Regions from separate parts of the Homo sapiens genome. Here all the other regions are linked to region 2. The links are contacts of gene promoters, found by promoter capture Hi-C in blood cells and fetal thymus (Javierre and others, 2016). All regions are on one chromosome and are shown on one strand. The core of a region is centred on a gene start or on the middle of the fragment in contact, and the rest is flanking DNA. Distances in the headings are between cores, read along the strand shown.

Region 1 (3,671 bases), core at 441-2,940, 670 kb after region 2:
TAAATGGAAGCAGAGATCAGCAACCTGGAAGGACTAGCAGAGGGAGAGGGAAGAGTGAAGGAGACACATGGCAAGATCTTCCTGTGCCTTCCCATGTCAGCCTGGAGCTGAAGGGGTTCATGGGAATGCTTTGGAACCTCGCAACATTTTCAAAGTGTGGTCCCCAGACCAGATGCATCAGCTCACCCTGTTAAGGAACTTGTTAGGAGTGCACCTTCCCAGGCCCCACCTCCGTTCTTGTGCACCAGAAACTCAGGAGTTGGCAGGGAGGGGCCCAATAGGTTTGCCCCAGTTCTCCAGAGGATCCTAGTGCTCACTCTGGGTTTGAGAACCACAGCTCTAAAACATTACTCAAGTGCAAGGAAGCATGATCAGTTCGCTTTCCAAAGGCCTAGGCTGACTGAATGGATCCTGTCTGTGCAATATGTGAACAAGGAAGAATAAAACAGGCGCAGAGGGGTGGCAGGTTATTAGCGATCATTCCTGGCCACCTTTTTTAATAAGCACTGTCTTTTCAGCATGGAGCCCTCGCTGATTTGCCTGTGACTTCCAGGAAATAAGCCCAGAGAAGGCTGGAATAGGTAAAGCGGGGATGGGAGGTTCTCTGTACTCTGTACAGGTGAGACTGTCAGAGTGGAGAAAGGGAATGGGAGCAGCCAGGCCTGATGACCAGTATGGGACATGCTGACTAGTATCTGGGCCACACAGGAATGTTGTTTTAAGTCCTCTCCTGCTGAGCGTCTGGGGACAGAGCAGCTGCCCCTGGTGCTCCCTTTTGGTGGATGAGATGTGGCCTCCTCAGTCTGTGGCCAGGCAACTTCTTCCCCCTTGTCCTGAGGACTCCACCAGATCCTGAGGCCTGGGAACAACCAGGTCCCGACCCGGTAGCCCAGGGAGATGACCCCTCTCCATAAGCATGACATGATTCTGCTGAAATTCGTTTCTAAAAATAACCTAGGATCCGATCCAGCTGCTAAAAAGCCCCTTTGTTCCCTTGAAACCAAAATATGGAAAGCCACAGCAGCCCCAAGAAAGACAGTCTGTGTAGTCCAAGAGAGTGCATATACGAAATACTTGAATGCTGCTGCCGGAGGGCTGCGTCCTGTCTGTGGCCTAGAAGCTTCCTGCCGCAGCTCTGAGGAGTGAGTAGCAGTTATCGTTGCTAACCCTTATCCTGAGTGAACGGGGTCAGGAGAGGCTGCCAGTACCCCTTTTGTTAAACAGACCTTCCAGATGGCATTGTCACTTCCACCTGAAGGTGGCTCTTGTCCTCCTTAAACAACTGAAGGAAATGGTGAGCGCTGCTGTTTCATCCTCTACATTTTTTTGAGCTCTAGCTTGCTGTGAACACCCCTACCTCCACCCCATACATCCTCTGAGTCACTGGAGGACACAGAGGTGACCCAGGCCAGTGTGACTCACACAATTTGAAAGAGGTTGGCTTTCCCAAGGCTCTGGGCCTAAGGGACTGCCCTTTCTCATCTTGATAATTTTTTTTGAGATGGAGTTTTACTCTGTTACCCAGGCTGGAATGCAGTGGCACGATCTCAGCTCACTGCAACCTCTGCCTCCAAGGTTCAAGTGATTCTCCTGTCTCAGCCTTCTGTGCAGCTGGGATCACAGGCGTGCAACACCACACCTGGCTTTTTTTTTTTTTTTTTTTTTTTTTTTTTTTTTTTCTGAGATGGGGTCTCACTGTGTCTCCCAGGCTGGAGTGCAATGGCACAGTCTTGGCTCACTGCAACCTCCATCTCCCGGGTTCAAGCAACTCTTCTGCCTCAGCCTCCTGAGTAGCTGGGACTACAGGCACGTGCCACCACACCTGGCTAATTTTTTGTATTTTTAGTAGAGACGGGGTTTCACCATGTTAGCCAGGATGGAATTTTTATATTTTTAGTAGAGACGGGGTTTCGCCATGTTGGCCAGGCTGGTCTCAAACTCCTGACCTCAGGTGATCTGCCCACCTTGGCCTCCCAAAGTGCTGGGATTACAGGCATGAGCCACTGCGCCTGGCCTCATCTTAATAATACTGATGCCATTTCAAGATGGAGCCAGTGGCCAGGGGTCAGGGGGACAGCCGTGCCCTCCCAGGCACATTCCTGCTTCCTCCCACCACACTGTTTCCCTACCCATGCCCTGGAGCTTTCTGTCTTCATCTTGGTGGTTCTTAAAACCTGTGACATGGGTTGGATCTTAGCAGACCAGGTGATCAGGATCAGGCTGTCAACCTTGGGTCAATTCTTGGTATCGCTGTTTGGAGAAAGCTTTTGTCATCTATGGGTCCTACCTTCTCCCTGCCTTCTGAAGGCATCTGACCAGAACTGGTAAGTTTTGCCACCATTATCACTGCACAGCATATCCTAGACAACACAGCCACTCCAAGACTGAGAGGTATTTTATTTTTATTTTTTGGATCTCAGATCACCACAGATAATGTTCCAGTGAACATCCTTGCACATGCCCCCTCCAGGCCCTGGATGAGGATTTCTTTGGAAGATGTAGCCAGGACTAGATGACTGGGTCCACAGCATGCATAGATGTAGTTTGACCAAAAAGCACCAAGTGATTCTGGGGAGGAGGGATGAATTCTGGATTCCTGAGACCCAGGGGCTACGAGTGACACGTTTTCTCCGATTAGATGCTTTGACTCTAGTACTACCTTTTTTGGTGGAATTGAAGAAGGTGCTGTCAGAGTAGCAGACTTGGAGAGGGGGAAGTAAGTGAGGGAGGCCCGTGGATACCACCTCCTAACCAGGAAGTGGCGTTCTATCTTCAGAAAGAGAGAACTGAGCCTGCGAGTGACATCCTCTCAAGTCTGTTTTCTCAAAAACTAAAAGGATGTGGGCTTTCCTTGGGTCTCTGGGAAAGGGGGCTGTCCTGAGATGACTGGAAGCAGAGACTAGCAACCTGGAAGGACTATAGGGGGGAGAGGGAAGAGCAAAGGAGACATGAACCAGAACCCAGAACTTCAGGAAGGGAGTACCCCACCCCCAGGAGGCTAAGTTCTAGGGGCTAGCTGAAAATTAGCATCAGATTCCCTGACCAGGCCATGGTATACTATCCCATGGTGAGGCCAGAGGCCTGGCTTGGTGTGCCCGCCCTCACCTGGCTTCCTGGCTTGGGTGTGGCTGTCGGATGATGATGACAAGTGGTCCCACCCGCCACCTGAACTTTAGCCAACACCTGCTGCCTCTGACCTTGTTCCCATGCCTCCAAAGGGCCTCAGTAGGCTGAAGGAGGGCATGTGCTCTAGTCTGCTTCTGCAAACCAGTTGGCATTTAAGGAGCAATTAGGGCAGGGCAGACATGGGGAGGGGAGGAAGAACCCGGGATTGTGATGAGGATGGCTGCCAGACCTGAGGGATTGGAAGTGGCCAGGGTGAACTAGAATCTGGGTCATGGAAATAAGGAGCCTGTGATAAGGAGGCGGGCAGAACAGCCTCTGCCTGAGATTCACACCTCCGGAGAGAAGGGCTAGCCAGGGATGTTTTAGGCTAGGCAGCCTACCATGGTCAGGTTCTTGCCAGCTTTCTTGATAGGGCACTGTCCTTTGGAAGCGTAAGAGTGCCAGAGAGAAGGAGTAGAGCTTAAACCCCCCAAGGTGGTGCACAGGAAACAGCCCTGCTGGAAACAAGAGAGAGAATGCAGAGCAGGTTCTCCCTCTGTGCTTCT
Region 2 (3,736 bases), core at 263-2,762:
CTCAGAGGCCTGATAATACTAGCCCAGGGTCCTGCTCCCTTACAGTTCTGTAATCTTCACTCAGTGACTCGCTTCTGTCTCAATACAAAGGAAAGACGTTATTTTTTCTTTTTCTCCTTTTTTTTTTTTTGAGGCAGGGTATCGCTCTGTAGCCCAGGCTGGAGTGCAGTGGCGCAATCATGGCCCACTGCAGCCTTGACCTCCTGGACTCAAGTGACCTTCCTGCCTCTGCGATAGTTTTTCATGGATGCTTCTAGTAGTTTTTTGGAGGTATGGTGTGTTAGGAACAAACTGCCCCAAAAAGCTTCTTGGTACTGCCGACACTTCCCCCAAACCTCTCCGTGCTGCTCACTCCTCCCCCTAATGCTCTGCAACTCTTCTCCTTCCCCCAAGCCTCTTTACACTTCTAAGTCCTTATGAAGCCAGCAGACTTCACTTATCAGACCTTGCTGCAATAAACAAACCCCAATTACAAATCATCCGGACCGCACAGGGGAAGGTGATGGGAAGCATAAACAAACTTTACCTACACCCTCCTGTAATAAACGTCACAAGCTAATATGTGGCAAAATTAACCAGCAAACAACCCCAGGGTCTCTCTCCCCCATATAAACCCCTCATTTTGTAAGCTCAGGGGTGCCTCCTCTGTCTGTGGTGGAGCAGCCGTCAGGTTAATAAACTTCCTCGGCTGACCTTGGGTCTCTCTTTCGTCCTTTCTCTCGGCTAACCTTATATGGTGATAGATTGGAAACTTTTTTTTTTTTGAGACGGAGTCTTGCTCTGTCGCCCAGGCTGGAGTGCAGTGACCCGATCTCAGCTCACTGCAAGCTCCGCCTCCCGGGTTCATGCCATTCTTCCGCCTCAGCCTCCCGAGTAGCTGGGACTACAGGCGCCCGCCACCACGCCCGGCTAATATTTTGTATTTTTAGTAGAGACGGGGTTTCACCGTGTTAGCCAGGATGGTCTCGATCTCCTGACCTCGTGATCCGCCCGCCTCGGCCTTCCAAAGTACTGGGATTAGGGGCGTGAGCCACCGCGCCCGGCCGATTGGAAGCTTTTAAGAACTCCTTCTCCTATTTTGAGAATTCAGAAATTTATTTATAGCTTTCGTAAAATAGAGTGAAGACTCTTACAGACCTATGTTAGACTAGCAGGCGCTCAGTCTCTGTGGTCCGAGATAGAGCACGAAGATGACAGTGTATATGCATTTTGGTGCTGAAGTGGACCTGGAGTGTGGACAGAGGAGTTACTAAGAAGAATCCCGGAGACCAGGATGTAAACTCTCAATTCTAATCAACACAGGTGTGGGCTATGGTTCTGAGACACCATTCATCTCACACGAGGTACGGCGATACGCGACACCACCCAGTACAACAGCTCTCTCTCCACCTGGAACCCGGACCCAGCTTGATTCGCGGGTGCCGGATGATGACGTATCCTTGCACCTGGCGATGATTGGTTCGCGTGGAGAGGCGTCGTCCGACAACGCGACTCGGAACCCGGACCTATGTTCTCGCGAGAGTTAGCGGCCTCCGGTGTGGGATGGCCGCGGAGCCGGGCGGAGCTGGCTTGCGGCTCCCGGGGCCGGCTCTCCGGCCGGAGACATGGCCCGGGGGCCCGGCCCGCTAGGCAGGCCTCGCCCCGATACGGTCGCCATGCCCAAGAGAGGAAAGCGACTCAAGTTCCGGGCCCACGACGCCTGCTCCGGCCGAGGTGGGCGAGGGGGGCAGGGGCGCTGAAACATTTTGGGGGCTGGCGGCTGGGAGGGGGCTGGACCGTGCCGAGGTGAGCGCTCGCGTGCCCGCGGCTGGAGGGCGGCTCGGTCCGGGGGCCTGCAGCGAGGAGGAGGTGTTGGCGGGGAAGACGCTGACGAGAGAAGGCCTCTTCCTTGAGGGTTGGTGCTGTGTTGCAGTGACCGTGGCGGATTACGCCAACTCGGATCCGGCGGTCGTGAGGTCTGGACGAGTCAAGAAAGCCGTAGCCAACGCTGTTCAGCAGGAAGGTAAGCTTTGCGCGAGCCTTTAAAGACTCATGCCGCGAAGACAGAACTAGGTATTTTATTTCTGTTTTTCTTGCAGTCCTTTAGTCGTCTTCCTGTAACCGTGTTTGCTTTCGTTAGTGTTAACTTACATATTGGGGTGGAGGAGGATTAGTCAAGAGTAGCAGTTTCTGTAGCAGAAATATTTTCTTTCTTTCTTTGCATTTAAAAACATGTTTGCATACTTTTTAGTTTCCACTGCATTCTTCTTGGTTATTAATCTCTTTGCTGTAGTTCACATGTTTTACTCTGCAGTTTGCTTCCTTGTTTAATAACCTTGGAGTGTTCTTTTCCTTTTCTGGTGTTTCTCTTGCTTTCAGTCTGTTTACTCATGGGTCTGAGACTTGTGTTTTATGACACCTACTGCCTCCAGCTCAGGACCAGGATTAAATTGGATTCAATTTGTCTCAAACATTTCTCTGTAGACCTTATGAGAATACAAATCAGCTTTTATCCTGCAGGGTTTATAGTGGAAAAATTGTACACACCTTTTTTCTTCAGGGCTGAAAAAAGGAGTTTCTGCAACTTTGGAGTCAGTTTGCCCATTGCTTTCCTTTTTTTTTTTTTTTTTTGTATTTAAAATACTAAAATCTTTATTTTTTTTGGTGACAGATTCTCACCTTTCTCTCTCAACGATGTTTTTTTTCCCCCCTTTCCTGAATGGATGCTGATACCTTGGCTAAGTTGTTTGTATTTCTGGGTGGAGCTGTGTGCCATCTCATTCTCCTTTTATTTTCTTCTAGTAAAATCTCTTTGTGGCTTGGAAGCCTCTCAGGTTCCTGCAGAGGAAGCTCTTTCTGGGGCTGGTGAGCCCTGTGACATCATCGACAGCAGTGATGAGATGGATGCCCAGGAGGAAAGCATCCATGAGAGAACTGTCTCCAGAAAAAAGAAAAGCAAGAGACACAAAGGTATGGAGCTTGTTCTCTTTTGGTTTATTAGACCTGCCTGTGGTGACAAATTGAAGATGTTACTTTCCCAGTAGCACAGGAGGAGATATAAGACGTGATACCAGGAGAGTTTAAAGAAAACTTGGCTCTCCCTAAGAACCTTGGTAGTGGGCCGGGATTTAATACACCTGGGCTTTCTTTTTTCTTTTGTCTGAATTCGAGAGGGAAAGAGATTAGTACGTGTTAGTAGAGTTCTGGAGCTGTGAACTGGACTCTAGTAGCCCTTCATTGAGAACATGTTATTATCAGGTAAAAACCCATAAGGCAATGTGAAAATAAAAGGCCTTTGCATTTCTGGATTTCTGAATGTGTAAGGAAGCAGAGATGTAACCAAAAAATGTTTTCCAAAGTATGTGGATTTTACGTTAACTAGTTTTGTTACACACAAACATAGACATTATCGTGGGCTTTTAAGTGCTCTGCAATTAGTAATGTCTGCTTTATGTCTAATAAGTATTGTGGGAAATAGAAAAGTAGGTGATTTTTTTATATCCTAATGGCAATGAAATGTACACAAATGAAACAAAGAATAATAAACTGATGATAATATAACGTGCCAAACCATCATTCAGATTCTGGGTTTTCCTTCAGACTTAATGAGTCAGAATCTCTTGGGGTGGAACTCAGAATTTTTATTTATTTATTTTTTTGAGACAGGGTTTTGGTCTCTTGCCTGGGCTGGAGTGTAGTGGAAAGATCATGGCACACTGCAGCCTTGACTTCCCAGGCTTAAGCGATCCCCCCATCT
Region 3 (3,771 bases), core at 83-2,582, 670 kb before region 2:
AGTGCTAGGATTACAGGCGTGAGCCACCGCGCCCAGCCAACACCAATCCTTTAATGTGTTACAAATATCCCCCAGTTTGTGCTTATCTTTCCATGTTGTACATGGTGTCTTTCAATAAACACATACTCTTAACATAATCAATCTTAAAATCTCTTTCTTTACATTTATACTTTGTGTATTAAATTTTTCCTTACCCCCAAATGTAGAGATATTCCTACATAGCCTTCAAATATTTTATAATTTTGCTATTCAAATTTAAATATTGAATCCACTAGGAATTGAATTTTATGTATAGTGAGTGAGGTGGGGGTCCAATTTAAAGTTTTTCCCCATATGAATAGTCAATTGTTCTAACATCATTTACTGAATCAGTCCATCCTTTCCCTGCTGATATTACTATAAATTAAATTTCTATATGTGTGGATTTGTTTTGGGACTCTTGAATTTGTTCCACTGGTCAAGTGGATTATTTCTGAGACAATACTCCACTGTTTGAATTACTATAGCTTATTCATTTTTTATTATTTAAATTTTTTCCCAGCTTTACTGAGGTATAACTGGCAAATACAAATTGTATATATTTAAGGTGTACAATGTGATGTTTTACTATAGCTTATCCACCTGGTCTTTTTCTTCAGGAATGACTTGATTATTCTTGACTCTTTGCTCTTCCATATAAATTTGAGAATCAGTTCATAAGTCCATAAATATATACATAAATATGTATATCTGAAATTATAATCCAAATCATAACAGGGTTCTGTGGTTTGGATTGTAATTTTATTGATGCTATAGATCAATTTGGAGATAACTGATATCTTTATGATATTGAATCCTAAGATCCATGAACACGCTGTTTCAGTCTTTTTTTTGATGCTTTCCAAAGGTTTTATAATTTTCTCTATAAAGCTTTATCTAATTTTTGTTAGACTGATTTCTAAGTATTTATATTTTTGCTATCTTTTCAAAAACACTATTTTCTACCCATTTCTTACTGATACATGTAAATCTAATTGATTTTTTTTTATTTTTTTGAGATGGAGTTTTGCTCTTGTTGCCCAGGCTGGAGTGCAATGGTGTGCTCTTGGCTCACCGCAATCTCCACCTCCTGGGTTCAAGCGATTCTCCTGTCTCAGCCTCCTGAGTAGCTGGCGTTACAGGCATGCACCATTAGGCCCAGGTAATATTGTATTTTTTTAGTAAAGACAGGGTTTCTCCATGTTAGTGAGGCTGGTCTCGAACCACGGACCTCAGGTAATCCACCCATCTCAGCCTCTCAAAGTGCTGGGATTACAGGCATGAGCCACCTCGCCCAGCCAATCTAACTGATTTTTAACCAAAGCCTTAGTAATGCTAATGATGAATCTATTTGGGGTGGGGAGCAGTCTGGGAATGGTAATTCCACACTGCCAATCATGTCATCCACATATAATCAAGTTTATTTCTTCCCTTCTAATTCTTTTCCTGCCTTCTATTCTGACAGTAACTTCTAGTACAATGTTAAATGAAAAAGCTGATAGCTGGGCCAAGCATGCTGGCATGAGCCTGTAATCCCAGCTACTCAGGAGGCTAAGGTGGGAGGATGACCTGAGCCCGGGGAGACTGAGGCTGTAGTGAGCCATGATTGTGCCACTGCACTCCAGCCTGGGAGGCAGAGTGAGACCCTGTCTAAACAACAGCCAAAAAAAAAAAAGAAAAAAGAAAGAAAGAAAAGCTGATAGTTGGCATTCTTGTCAGATTTCTAACCTTAAAGGGAAAGCTTTTAACACTATGCTAATCAGTAAGACTGGCCTATAACTGTCCTTTCTAATTTTGTCTTTATTAGCTATCAAGGTTATGCTAGCCTCCTAAAATGAGTTAGGGAGTATTGCCTCCTTTTTTTTTTTTTTTTTTTTTTTAACATATTGTGGATTAGTCCAAGAGATAATTTGTTACTAGGTTGTCTGGAATAACTCCATCTGATCCTGGTGTTTTCATTTTGAGAAAATTTTAACCTACAAATCCAATTTACTTGAATCTTATTCAAGTTATTTATTCTTGCATCAATTTTGGCAAGTTAAATTTTTCCACAAATTTATCTATTACATGCAATTTTCAATTTATTTGTATAATGTTTTATCTTTTTAATCTGTAGTTATCTATGGTTATGTTTCCATTTTCATTTCTAACACTGTTTATCTGTGCCATCTTTTCTTTGATCAGTCTTGCTGGGCATGTATCAACCAAAAGGAAGTTCAAGTTTTGGTTCCACTGGAAAGAATAAAAATTTATGACAAAAATAGAAAATGAGAAAAAATACTTTTTTCTTAAAAATAAAGATTTTTTGCTGGAAGTGTTTTGTACTTCAAGATCACGCCACTGCACCCCAGCCTGGGCGATAGATTAGGACTCTGTCTCAAAAAAAAAAAAAAAAAAAAAAACATCTTCGTCCAAACACGTACTATACATTTTTTCTTGTCATTATTCCCTAAACAATACAGTGTAACAACAATTTACTTAGCATTTTATTAGGTATTATAAGTAATCAAGAAATAATTCAAAGTATATGGGGGTGGGGCTGGGCACGGTGGCTCACACCTGTAATTGCAGCACTTTGGGAGATCAAGGCAGAAGGATCACTTGAGGCCAGGGGTTCAAGACCAGCCTGTGCAACAAAGGAGAACCCCATCTCTAAAATAAATAAAGTATATGGGAGGACATGCAGAGGTTCAAGACCAGCTTGTGAGGCCTGGCACAGTGGCTCACGCCTGTAATCCCAGCACTTTGGGAGGCTGAGGCAGGTGGATCACTTGAGATCGGGAGTTCCAGACCAGCCTGGCCAACATGGGGAAATCCCCTCTCTACTAAAAATATAAAAATTAGCCAGCTGCGGGGGTGGAGGCCTGTAATCCCAGCTACTCAGGAGGCTGAGGCAGGAGAAAGGCTTGAACTCAGAAGGTGGAGGTTACAGTGGGCTGAGATCGCGCCACTGTACTCCAGCCTGGGCGACAGAGCAAGACTCTGTCTCAAAAACAAAACAAAACAAAACTGGCCAGGCATGGTGGCTCACACCTGTAATCCCAGCACTTTGGTAGGCCAAGGTGGGTGGGTCATTTGAGGTCAGGAGTTTGAGACCAGCCTGGCCAACATGAGGAAACCCCATCTCTATTAAAAATACAAAAATTAGCAAAGTGTGGTGGTGCACGCCTGTAATCCCAGCTACTTGGAAGGCTGAGGCAGGAGAATGGCTTCAACCAGGAAGGCGGAGGTTGCAGTGAGCCAAGATCGCGCCACTGCACTCCAGCCTGGGTGGCAGAGCGAGACCCTTTCTTAAAAAAAAAAAAAAGAAAAAAAGAACCAGCCTGTGCAACAAAGGATATCCCCATCTCTTAAATATAAAGTATATGGGAGGACATGCATAGGTTATATGCAAATACTACACCATTTTATATCTGGGACTTGACCTTTGGTGGATTTGGGATCTGCAGGATGTCCTGGAACCATCCCTCATGGATACAGAGGGTTGACTGTACAGTAAAAGTATCACAAGTATAAAGTATACCTTTATATAAAATGAGAACAGTGGAAAGCCATGGTAAAAGGATTAGAACAAGCAAGACAATTTCTCCCAAGGAAGCAACCAGACTCCAGCCTCACTATGTTAACCAAAATTGGCATATGCCATTCTTTGGCTCAAATGCCATGAATAACTGCCTATTTTTCAGGGTATAAAGGTTCTTTACAATCTAACCCTTATATCCCGCCTTATATCCAGTATCTACTCTCCACAAA

Evidence for each region. The method cuts DNA at HindIII sites, captures the fragments that hold promoters and counts their contacts. A CHiCAGO score of 5 or more calls a contact.
Region 1: a contact is called between a fragment that was not itself captured here and the fragment with the promoter of TMEM183A in region 2, in 1 of 17 cell types (fetal thymus). The highest score is 6.0, in fetal thymus.
Region 3: a contact is called between a fragment that was not itself captured here and the fragment with the promoter of TMEM183A in region 2, in 2 of 17 cell types (total CD8 T cells and naive CD8 T cells). The highest score is 7.3, in total CD8 T cells.

The regions. Positions count from the first base shown.
Region 1 is chr1:203,672,994-203,676,664 of GRCh38, forward strand. The region is part of intron 1 of ATP2B4 (ATPase plasma membrane Ca2+ transporting 4); the gene reads left to right. Among named protein-coding and RNA genes, the nearest start is that of ATP2B4, 48 kb to the left of the region's middle. The HindIII fragment of the contact is 1,144 bases long and covers 1,119-2,262 here.
Region 2 is chr1:203,005,862-203,009,597 of GRCh38, forward strand. It overlaps TMEM183A (transmembrane protein 183A), which reads left to right and starts at 1,513. Exons shown (of 8, transcript NM_138391.6): 1 at 1,513-1,713; 2 at 1,913-2,002; 3 at 2,782-2,949. The coding sequence starts at 1,605. It also overlaps the pseudogene MGAT4FP. RefSeq lists enhancers at 1-90, 732-861, 865-1,639, 1,640-2,412, a cis regulatory region at 1-191 and a silencer at 1,572-1,821. The HindIII fragment of the contact is 953 bases long and covers 1,053-2,005 here.
Region 3 is chr1:202,337,203-202,340,973 of GRCh38, forward strand. All of the region lies in intron 1 of UBE2T (ubiquitin conjugating enzyme E2 T), which reads right to left. Among named protein-coding and RNA genes, the nearest start is that of UBE2T, 2.8 kb to the right of the region's middle. RefSeq lists an enhancer at 1-387. The HindIII fragment of the contact is 850 bases long and covers 908-1,757 here.